Linked DNA regions of Homo sapiens: region 1 is linked to region 2. Evidence: promoter capture Hi-C in human tissues and cell types (Jung and others, 2019). All regions are on one chromosome and are shown on one strand. The core of a region is centred on a gene start or on the middle of the fragment in contact, and the rest is flanking DNA. Distances in the headings are between cores, read along the strand shown. Region 1 overlaps RGS7BP (regulator of G protein signaling 7 binding protein). Region 2 holds the start of RGS7BP (regulator of G protein signaling 7 binding protein).

Region 1 (6,137 bases), core at 205-2,704, 45 kb before region 2:
ACATTTACAAGGCCAGAAAGCCACAATCTAAATTCAGACCCAGGTGATAAAAGTTGATGATGCAGAGTGGAAATTCTCATTCCAGATTATGTCAAATCAGGACAAACACTTATTTCATGTATAGAGGCAATTCAAAATGAAGATATGTTAGGTATGTCGAGTCAGTTCTAATTCTCCTTTGTTGAGAAATTAGTACAAAGATGAAAGAAAACAAGAAAAAGAAAAGAGTATTCCCTCAAATTCAATAAGATACTTTCTACTTCATAAGTTAAATAATTAAGAAAATGTCAGAAGTAGTTAAGATAGTCTAAAAACTGACTAAGTTTTGGAAAGCTATTTAGAAAATATTACTGACTTTGGAAAAAATAATCAGAATTGGGAGAAGAAAAAAGAGTAACCATTTCTGAAAATAAGAACAGAAATTTTTTCTAATAGATACAGTTTAAAATACCATTTTAGGAGATGTTATTTAGGGGATAAATTTTTCTAGACTGTTTACATTAGACCACATTATCACCATTTGTGATCATCAAAAGACATATTTTATTGAGTGTTGAATACACTTTAAAATATACCTTGAAAATAAGGAAAGTTAGTTATGCAGATAAAAAGTGAAGAGATGCCTTATTTTTTCAAAAATTTTGATAAAGGCACATATCCAGCTTCTAATACAAATTCTAATCCAGTTTATAAGGTATCAAACATGCAGTTGTCAAGCTAACCTGCTTCTGTTTTTAGTATACTGATGAACTTACTGTAAGGATGTCAGCTGAACAAATATATTTTTAGAAGAAACTATATATGAACCAGATGATATGTAATTGGAACAATTGAAAAGTGATCTTAAAATTTAAAAAGTAAAAGATTTTAGATTAGCTATAAAGAATAGAATACTAATATATAATGGACAAAGTAATTATTAATAACTGCTTAACATATAATAAAAGGAAAGAAAGAAATTTCAACAAAATGCAGAAAAACATGCTGTGTTTTCCAGACCTAAAAACGGCCAGAAGCTCTTTAGAATAATCCCTTTGGTCTTAATAGTCAAGTGCTGATTTGAAATATTTTTTCTAAATACTTGATGTCTAAAGATGAATTGAAGCACACTCTATAGTCTTAATATAGGGTGACTCCCATAAAAATCCTTAAGACACACAATTTAGGAGGCTAAGGCCGGCTGATGGCTTGAGGTTAGGAGTTTGAGACCAGCCTGGCCAAAATGGTGAAACCCTGTCTCTACTAAAAATACAAAAATTAAGCAGGCGTCATGGCACACATCTGTAATCCCAGCCACTCGGGAGGCTGAGGCAGGAGAATTGCTTGAATTGGGGAGGCAGAGGTTGCAGTGAGCCAAGATTGCGCCACTGCACTCCAGGCTGGGAGACAGAGTGAGACTCCATCTCAAAAAAAAAAAAATAAAATAAAAAATAAATAAAAAAATAAAAAAAATCCTTAAGACACAGGATGCTTCTATAGACAGTAATCTTTGTCTGTTTTAACACTGTGTTGGCAGAAGGGGGAACATTCTTGAATATGGGTGACAAATAAGCAGAAAACCCAATACAGAGAGTAGGTAGAAATGACTTGTGTTTCAAGGAAATGAAACCTCAGTTGAGCCAGCATTCAATATGGGTAATTGCTGCTATGATTGTATTCTGGTTTAAAAGCTTTAGAAAATAATATTTATATAATTTTGAACACTTCATTTTTAATATATTAAGAAAATGCAGCACATATACACCATGGAATACTATGCAGCCATAAAAAATGATGAGTTCATGTCCTTTGTAAGGACATGGATGAAACTGGAAACCATCATTCTTAGCAAACTATCGCAAGGACAAAAAACCAAACACCGCATGTTCTCACTCATAGATGGGAATTGAACAATGAGAACACATGGACACAGGAAGGGGAACATCACACACTGGGGACTGTTGCAGGGTTGGGGGAGGGGGGAGGGATAGCATTAGGAGATATACCTAATGCTAAATGATGAGTTAATGGGTGCAGCACACCAACATAGCACATGTATACATATGTAACAAACCTGCACATTGTGCACATGTACCCTAAAACTTAAAGTATAATAATAATAAAATTAAAAAAATGCATTTGTTTTACAAAGTGAGAAATATTCTACATTATGGCCTGAATCCCCTCACCAAATTCATATGTTAAAGCTGTAACTGTCAATGTGATGATGGTATTTGGAGATGGGGTATTTAGATGAGGGTTAGATGAGGTCATAAGGGTGGGGCCCTAGTCTGAGGGGTTAGTGCCTTTAGAAAAAGAGACATCAGAAAGCTTGTTCTCTCTTTCACTCTGCCAAGTGAGAATACAGTGAGATAGTGGCCATCTGCAAGCCAGGAAAAGAGCCCTGGCTCTCAACTATGCTGGCATCCTGATCTTGAATGTTCAGCTTTCATAACTGTGAGAAAATCAGTGTCTGTTGTTTAAGCCACCTGGTCTGTGGTATTTTGTTATGGCAGTCAGAGCAGACTGCTATAACAAATACCTAAACATGTGGAAGTGGCTTTGGAACTGGGTAATGGGTAGAGGCTGGAAGAGTTTCAATGTACATGCCAGAAATGGAGGTTAAGGGTGATTCTGGTAAGGTATCAGACAGAAATGAGGAACATATTTTGGAAACTGCAGGAAAGATGATCCTTGTTATAAAGTAACAAAAAACTTGGCTGAACTGTTTTCTCGTGTTTTGTGGAAGGTAGAACTACCAAGCGATGACATTGGGTATTTAGCTGAAAAGATTTCTAAGTGTTGAAGGAGTGACTTGGCTCCTCTGAGTGCTTACAGTAAAATGTAAAAGAAGAGAGATGAATTGAAGAAGGAATTGTTTAGCAAAAAGAAACCAGAACTTGAGGATTTGGAAAATTCTCAGCCTACCCATATTATAAAAAATAATGAGAAAGCTTGTTCTGAAGAGAACACCAAGGGTGTGGCTGGACCATCACTTGATAAAGAGCTTATGGGATTATATGAGCAGAAGCACTGCCAGTTTGAACAGAAGGGGATGGAGACAGGACAAAATGAAGGAAAGCTGTCAGACTTTTCAGACTTGACAGGAGGGAATGATCAAGCTATTCAGCCATGTGTGATATTCTTCAAGAAGAAGAAAAAATGACCCTGAAGGTGATTCAGAAATTTCAAGGCCACTGCCTCAGTATCAACAGGCCAGATGGCCTGTGCCTGAAGCCTTGAGGGCAGAACTGCTTGGCAGAGCCATGGGGGCAGGACCCCCACCTGGAGCCATAGGCTGACTCTGCCACCCAGTTGACCTGGAGGACAGAGCATTGAACCAGAGAGGATTATTCCCAAGCCTTAACATCTAATGGAATTTGTTTTGCTAAACTTTGGACTTGATTGGGACCTGTCACCCCTTCCTTTTTTCCTATCTATCTCTCCCTTTTGCAACGGGAATATCTAGCCTGTGTCTGCCACATCATTGTATTTTGGAAGTACATAACTTGTCTGTTTTCACAGATATATAGCTGGCGAGGAATTCTGCCTCAGGATGAATTATACCTCAACTCTCATTCATATCTGATTTAGGTGTTATTTAGATGAGACCTTGGACTTTAAAATTTAGAGGTGATGCTGGAATGAGTTAAGACTTTCAGAGCTATTGGGATGGAATGTATTTTGCGTGAGAGAAGCATACAAATTTTGGAAGGCCAAAAATGGAATGTGTGTGACTGAAAGCTTGTGTCCCCCGACAAATTTATATGTTGAAGTCCTAACCCACAATGTGATGGTATTTAGTGATGAGGTCTTTGGGAAGTAATTAGGGTACTTAGTAAAAAAAAAAAAAAAAGGAAAGGGCTTTCGACTTTGCCTTTTTTTAGAAAAACAAGAACAAGGCCAGGAGTGGTGGCTCATGCTTATAATCCCAGCACCTTGGGAGGCCGAGGTGGGCAGATCACTTGAGGTCAGAAGTTCGAGACCAGCCTGGCCAACATGATGAAACCCCGTCTCTACTAAAAATACAAAAATTAGCCAGATGTAGTGGTGGGTGCCTGTAATCCCAGCTGCTCAGGAGGCTGAGGCAGAATTGCTTGAAACCAGGAGGCGGAGGTTGCAGTGAGCCGAGATCACGCCACTGCACTCCAGCCTGGGTGACAGAGCGAGACTCCATCTCAGAAAGTAAAAAAATAAAAAAGAGAACAGGTTGGTTGTCCAGTAAAATACTTCAAATCTTGAATTTATGTTTCTATGTGGTGTAATTTAACTTGCGTACAGAAATTTTAAATTATTATATAGGCAAACGTGTCAAACATTTTTGTTAAGTTCACTGGTTTCAGTGTCACTTTTATAAAGGCCTTTCTGACTCAATTGTATAAATATGTGTCTCTATTATTTTCTAGTACTTTAATACTTCAGAATTTATACTTAAATCTGTAACTTATCTTATTTTGGTGAAACGTTTAAACAGATTTCTAAATATATTTACCATGATACTTGTGAGAATTGAATAAATTATTTGATGATATTGACAATATTGTATATAATATTAACAGAAATATTTATTTACTGCAACAATAAGTTATATTGTTAGATAATAATAAGTTATATTGCTGCGGTAAATAATTATGGATAATGTTATATGAATTGTCATATATTTATTTCCTTTGTCAGGTTTTAGATATTGCATCAAACAGAAACTTCATCAAAGAGGAAAAGACCATGATTCAAAATATAGAAGAATCAGTAGTCAGTTTTATGTCAATAGTTGATTTTATTATTTTTCCCCAAAAGGCCTATTAGCATTCTTCAAAGTAAGTCTATACTTCTGATTATAGTGAATGATAACTTCAAATGTAGCATTCAAATAAAAATGAGAAGAGGAAAGAGAACCATTACCTCTAAACTTACTACTTATACAAAATGTAAATTGGAATAGATGCATCAATGAGAAACTTCCATCATCATGGAAGCTATTTGCTTCTTTCTAATATATTAGATGATAATATTTCCTACCTATTCAAATTACGGGTGAGACTATTTCTGACAGAATTTTTCTGATCATTATGTTATAGTTAGATAACTTTAATGGATAATTAAATTACTTATTTCTCATAAAATATCCTGAATTATGTTTGCATGTTTTTAATATTAGGTTTGTTTTACTGGAAAGGTGGTAGCCAATGATGGGAAATACTTAAGGTAGGAAACTTTGAAATTGTTATAAGTACCAGCTGAGAAGCTGTGGTTTATAATCTCAGAAAACCTGAATTTCAAAATGTCTGCTCACCAGAGGCTAAAATTAAAAAGACAGACAACACCAAGCTTTGGTGAGAAGAATTTCCATACACTGCTTTAGGGAGTGCAATTGATTCTACCCCTTTAAAAACTGTTCAGCTTTATTTATTCGAGTTAAATATATATCAACCCTATGCTCCAGAATTTTGTTTCTAGATATTTACCTAAGAGAACTGAAAATCTTTGTCCATCAGAAGATATATACAAGAATATTCATAGCAGCTTATTTCACAACAGCTCCAAACTGGAAACAACTCAAATGTCATTCAATAGAAAAATGGATAAATTGTAACACATATATACAATGAAATACAGTAATAAAGAAGAAAACTACTGCTACTTGCAACACATGGATGAATCTCACAGATATGCTGAAAGATTTCTTTTACATGAAGTTTAAGAACTGGCAAAAGTATGGTGATGGAAGTCAGAATTTTGATTGGGGTTGAGGTTGAATTCCTCTTGGGGTTGAGGTTGATGAGAAGGGGCATGAGGGAACCTTCTGGGGTGCTGGAAATGCTCTACATTTTTGTCTGAATGGTGGCTACACAGGTGTATACATATGTAGGAAATAAATGAACTATATACATAGATTAGTTCATTGACTTGCTTTACTGTACATAAATCCTGCTAATTTCATAAGAGACAATAAATTCTACTGCTGATGATTTTAACTGCATGAAAGTTGGAATAAATATATTCAAGTTTCTCCCATGTTAAAAAAAAATTCTTAATCTGTGTCCCTTCTCAGTATCTGCCTATCTTTCCTTCCCTTTAGAGACAAAGTTCTTTCAAAGATGTCTGAGTTCACCTTCTTTGATTCTCACCTCCCCATCTTGTTTCAACCACTGTCCTCT
Region 2 (6,080 bases), core at 27-2,526:
GGGTGTAATAGGCAAACCATTCACCTTTTGCTGGGCCACTGAACCTCTCGGCCTGACGGCCTGACGGGAAGACCAGCTACAGCCTCTGCGCTGGAACCTTCGACCCCTCCGCAGCGCCCCGTGCGCTGTATTTGGGTTTGTTTGCTACTCTGTCCCCAGAAAGCAGCATCCCCACCTCCTCATCCCTCCCTCCTCCGTGAGCGAGCCAGTTCACTGTGTCTTTCGCATCCACCATTCTTCGAGGGGGTACAGGCACAACCTACAGCCGCTGATCCCCAAGACCCTTGCTGTCACACTTCTTTCTGCAGGGTTATTACGACCAGGGTGTCACCCTGAATTTGGGGGACTGCAGATTTAAAAATAGTGCATGTGCCACGTGATCGGCATTGAGGAGCTGAGGGTGGGGGAGTGGCTGGCACTCAGGCAAATGATTAACATACATGACTCCCCCCACCCCCTCTCAATTAAAAAAAAAAAAAAAGAGGCGCAGTTTTCACCCACCATCTTGCAGTCGTCCAGGGCTCGTTGGGTTTTGTGGGCGCTCTCGGAGCCGCTGCCCCTGCGCTCCCAATCTCCGCTCTGCAGCGGGGGCTTGCTGATCTGGAAGATCGAGGAGCGGGTGGACCGGCTGGGGCGCTTTTTGCGCCCATTCGGTGCAGAACTCATGCATACACATCCACCAAGCCGAAGCCGCTGGTGCAGTGCGCCCCGGCGCGGGCGGCCCGGTTGTTGCCCTGGGCGCCGCCGCCAAGCAGCCGGAGCCCGGACCTGAGGCGCGCAGCTCACAGTGCTGGGGCTGGCTGCGCGGGTCGGTAACCTTCAGCTTGAAGGAGAGCCGGGGAAGCGCTAGCTGTGCCGTGCAGCATCGCTTCCACTAGCAGCGAGGAAGGAGCGCGATCAAGTTCTGCTCAGCAGCATTGCCGACCCTGTCCCGGGAGCTGGGCGCTGGCGCGGGCTCGCACTGCCTTCCTCTCGGCATGGATTGCAAGGCTGGGCGAGAAGGAACGCGCCGCCCGGCGGTTCCGAGTTTCCATTCAGGTGGGGGAGCAGCTTTCAAAGCCTGCGCTGCAAGGTGGGGGGCGGAAAGGGGTGTCGCTCTTGCTTCAGTGTCTTCCCGCAGCGGCACTCGGTTCGTCTTTCCCCTCCCTCCACTGTCGCCAGGCCTGGAAGGACTGGCCGTCCCCAAAGCAAGCAATTGGCTCTAATCGGCTGCCTTGATCCCTCGTCTCTAAGGGCTTGTCTGTTTGAAGATCCCAGATGAATCTGTGGCGGGACTGGCAGACGCAGAGAATCGGTCCGGCTGACGTTGTTCGCGGGCCCGCACATTGATAGGACGGGAATACTAATGTGATCTGTCCATGCAACCCCCTTCCCCCTCCACAGTTTATGCACTTATCCAATCAAATCCCCGGGAACATCAATTGCAATATTACTTCATCTGCTCTATTATTAGAAACGAAAAGTGTCATCAGAGTGGAGCACATGCCACATGCTGGGACCTAAACATGGATTTCAAATAAGCCAGTGTGGGCTTGAGGCCCTCACCAACTGAGACTGAGACAGGGGCCACAGGAGGGAGTGAGGTTTTGCTCCAAATGGAAGACCTCTTGATAACCTAAAAGGAGAGCTTTGTTTCCCTGAGTTGTTTTGTTTTTATTTTGTCCTTGTTCATGGAGGGGGAAAGAGGAGAGCCAGTGAGGCAGAATGCACAGAGGCATTCACTCAGATTGGGCCTCATCCCCATCCCATTTCAAGTAGTAAAGCTCTTGGTCTTGCATTGCAGGGTCTCAGGACTCAGCTCCTAGAGTTCCCTTCCGGAGACTTGAACAAATAAGAGCCAAGAGATCTCCCTGGACACTCAAAATGACCTTCTTCTCACTTATGGGATATCAGTAACCCAGAGGCCAACAGAGGTGGCCCAGAAAATCGGGGATGATTCTTGTGTGAAAGGAGTGGGGGTGAGGCCCTCAGCCATTTAAGTTCACCCTTCCCACTGACATCTTCCTAAGGTTCTTCTGGGAGGAAGAGAGAGTGTTGTGGCATTCAACTCTAAGGCTCTAAGGATGCTTGTTCTCCTGAATGATTTGTTTGGAGAGGGAGATAAAGGGGTCTCCCATAGGAAAACTAGTTATGTATTAGTAATCCTAATAAGAACAGATTAGAGGTTCCTGGTCAGTCTGTTAAAGGGATATGGAGAGTACATAGAAAGAGAAAGCCTGAAATAGCCAGGAAGGTTAATATCCTAAGGAGGGTGGCTTTACAACCTTTTCTACAAGACAAGTAAATATAATGGGGTACTATAATAAGAGAGTTATTTGGTCTTTGTCCCCAGTCCCTAGGGCAGAACTCCTAAAACCCTTAGAAATTGCCTGAGTTATTATGATAAGCCATCTTGTCACCAGAAAGACCAAGCCTTGATTAGTTGCTTGCAACTTTCAGCCTCATCCCCCAATCTCAGGGGATAGGAGAGGAGCTAGTGACTGCGTTCCTCACCAATGGCCAATTATTTAATCAATCATGCCTACATAAAGAAACCTCTGTAAAACTCCTAAACAACAATAGAGTGTGGGGAGCTTCTGGGTTGTGGAAGACATCTAGGTGCTGGAAGGGTGGTACACCAGGAAAGAGCATGGAAGTTCCATGTCCTTTTCCCATACCTTGCCCTATGTTTCTCTTCCAGTTGGCTGCTCCTCAGTTGTATCCTTTAGAATAGACTGCTAATAGTAAGTAAAGCTCTTTCCTGAGTGCTGTGAGTCATTCTAGTGAATTACCAAATCTGAGAAGGTGGTTATAGGAACCCCTGAATTTGTCGCCAAGATGGAGAGAAGAGTTGGTAACCTGTGGATCCCATACTTGTGACTGGCCTCTGAGATGAGGGCAGTCTTGTGGGACTGAGCCCTTAAACCTGTAAATCTGACGTTAACTCTGGGTAGTTAGTGCCAGAAATGAGTTGTAGGCCACCTAATTGGTGTTAGAGAGTTGGAGAAGTGCTATTGGAAAAGACATCATGTATTTGGGTGGGAAGGAAAAAAAACCTAACAGATGGATCACTGAGTGGATATTTGGCTACATTTTTTTTTTTTCTGAGTCAGGGTCTTGCTCCGTCACCCAGATTGGAATTTAGTGACACCATGAGAGCTCACTTCAGCCTCAACTTCCTGGGCTCAGGTGATCCTCCCACTTCAGCCTCCCAAGTAGTTGAGACTACAGGCACATGCCACCTAATATTTTGTAAAGACAGAGTTTTGCCATGTTGCCCAGGCTGGTCTTGAACTCCTGAGCTCAAGTAATCCACACACCTTCACCTGCCAAAGTGCTGGGATTACAGGTGTGAGCCACTGCGCCTGACCAGAACTTCACACAAGCTTGAGAGTGAGTTTTCCCTATCAAAGACTAGAGAAAGGAGGCATCAGCTCTCAGGCCCAGACCTTGGTGTGCTGCTATCCTCCAGGTGTTTAGATGTCCCAGAGACTGAGAGAAAGGGCTCTTCTGCTGGTTGAATCTCCCCAAATATAAGAAGATAACAGGTTAGTGCTTAGTCAGCTCCCTGACCCTTTCTCTTTCCTGCAATCTCAATTACCTCCCCTCCCTTCCTCCCTCCCTCCTTTTTTTCCTTCCTTCCTTCCCTCCTTCCTTCCTTCCTTCCTTCCTTCCTTCCTTCCTTTTTTCCTTCCTTCCTTCCTCTCTCTCTTCCTTCTCTCTCTCTTTCTTTCATTCTTTTGTTCATTCGTTCATTCTACGGAGTCTCACTCTGTTTCCCAGGCTGTAGTGCAGACTTCTGAGTAGTTCCACAGACATGCCTGAGTTGGCCGCTCCTGAGTTGTATTCTTTAGAATAGACTGGTAATAGTAAGAAAAGCTCTTTCCTGAGTGCTGTGTCATTCTAGTGAATTACCAAATCTGAGAAGGAGGTTGTAGGAACCCCTTCCTACAACCTGAGCTGAGTGGACCACAGGCACGTGCCACCACACCCGGCTAACTTTTGTATTTTTAGTAGAGACAAGGTTTCACAATGTTGGCCAGGCTGGTCTCAAACTCCTGACCTCAGGTGATCTGCCTGCCTCAGCCTCCCAAAGTGCTGGGATTGCAGGCATGAGGCTCTGTGCCCAGCCCCAATTTTCTTTCTACTTAACGCGTGTAAAGAGAGAAGCAGAAAAACACATCAGGTGCCTGGGGTTTTGTGAGGGGTGAGGATGCTTGGGATGATGAAGAGGAAGATAACAGAGAGACTGAGGGGCTTTAAAGAAGGATCGATAATATTCATTTGTAGATGGTTTAAGTCCTGTGTTATAAACCTCTTTCACTGTCACTAGCTTACCCCTGCACTCTCCACCCAACTTTCAGGAAAAGTCTGCTATAACCCATTGTTGGTGGTGCTTTGGAGAACTAAGGGAAAAGGGGCTACCTTTTACATGTGTGTGCACATGGGTTGAAGAGGATAGGACACTGGAGATCAGTCTGCTGGAAATCTTTTTCCATGGCTCTGTTGATTCATCCCCTTTTCCTGTGAGGAAATAGCCACTTCTACCAGATTTGAGCGTCTTAAACCTACTCAGTAGTAGGTTTCTACTCCAGTTACAACCATCTGGTTTCTAACCCCCACCTCCCTTCTTCTGCCTAGAGACAATTTCAACAAATTAAAAGAAAAAAAGGCAATATAATTGCACTGCCCTATTTCTATGCCATATTTCTTGCAGGAGCTGGGGGGCAGGGGTGGGGGATGGAATGAATAGGTCAAATGCAATGCCACGTCTGAAAGACTACTGACTTGGGAACCTGCTGGGGGATTAAGCGGAAATTTCACTCGTAGGTGCCCCTTGGCCTTCCCTGATACACAGCCCAAGCCATTTTCCTGAGAAGGGAGAAAAATAGCATCAATCTCAGAGCTGTCTCTCCCAGCCAGCGACAAATGCTGTAATCAGAATAGCAGCAGGCAGGCTTAGTTTCCTAACCTTCCCCCACATTCAAAACTGCATGAATTTACATTCCTGAGGCTGTCTGACTGCCAAGTAGAAGGGTAAAGTGTAGTTGGAAATCTCAACAACAGGCACATATTTTGATTACCCAGACCCGATTTTGGCACATGCCTGATCATTGGTCACCTATAGGTATATGGCTTTGACAAGAGTCACATCCTAGATTCACTCCAATATAAGATATACCTTACATTTTGTGTTCTCTCTGTGATAGTTTTGAGAATTCATTTTGATTTGAAATTTTAAGAAACATCAGAGAACATCAGTTTAGAATGAATATGAGCAATTGCTGAGTTTCTTCAAATTGGTTCTGTAGGGAACCGTAGTGGGACCCAGAAATGAACACTTCATAATGGATTGGCCTCTCATGAGAGGTGATAGTAGGAGGCAGGTTTCATCTGGGAATAAAGTTCAGAGAAGTGAAAAAAAGGGGGGGCCCTTACATGAGTGGGTCTCTGATAGAGGCAGAGAAAAATACATTAAGATTCTGAATTCCAGAAGCTAGGGAGATCTGAAGGGCATGATCAAGTTATTTTTTTGTTAGTGTCAAAAGATAAGAGATAAAGTTATTCTGAAGAACTTAGTGAATAAACTATCTAACAGATGGTTTCTTTCTGCTAAAAGCATAAGAGGGTGCAATATGTTGGGAACATTTATTTATTAATTTCACAAATATTTTTGGGTATTCTTGTTAGGGACAGATCCAGGTTTTGTTGGTCTTGAAGCTTATACAATTTGGGAGCCCCTCTTAAAGAAAAAGAACACAAAAATTTAAATACAAGATGAGATACATTGTCTTAGAAGGAGCTTATGCAAGTGAGGTTCCCTGAAGTTTAGGCTTCATGAAATTCACGGTAAATTTCAACCTTGGAGTGTTTCTTGTGTGCATAATGGGCATCTAGTGTTTTGCTTGCTCAATTTTTATTCTCCCTTTTCTGATGATAGCACCTTAAATTTCCTATGAGAAATCAGTCCTCTCTCACTTTTTGCCCACATGGCTCTGTGCATGGGCATATGATTCAGGACTGACCAATACAAATACTGTATCTCAGTGGCCACAATGACTGGTTTAATAATGGTTATGAAATCTAAGTTGGACCAAAGA

The links. Contacts are between HindIII fragments. The study calls those that stand out against the background at their distance.
Region 1: a contact is called between a fragment that was not itself captured here and the fragment with the promoter of RGS7BP in region 2, in 2 of the 25 tissues and cell types used here (H1 embryonic stem cells and dorsolateral prefrontal cortex).

Annotation. Positions count from the first base shown.
Region 1 is chr5:64,546,550-64,552,686 of GRCh38, reverse strand. The region is part of intron 2 of RGS7BP (regulator of G protein signaling 7 binding protein); the gene reads right to left. Among named protein-coding and RNA genes, the nearest start is that of RGS7BP, 44 kb to the right of the region's middle. The HindIII fragment of the contact is 3,749 bases long and covers 1-3,328 here.
Region 2 is chr5:64,501,211-64,507,290 of GRCh38, reverse strand. RGS7BP (regulator of G protein signaling 7 binding protein) reads right to left here and starts at 1,276. Exons shown (of 6, transcript NM_001029875.3): 1 at 502-1,276. The coding sequence starts at 666. The HindIII fragment of the contact is 10,674 bases long and covers 1-4,533 here.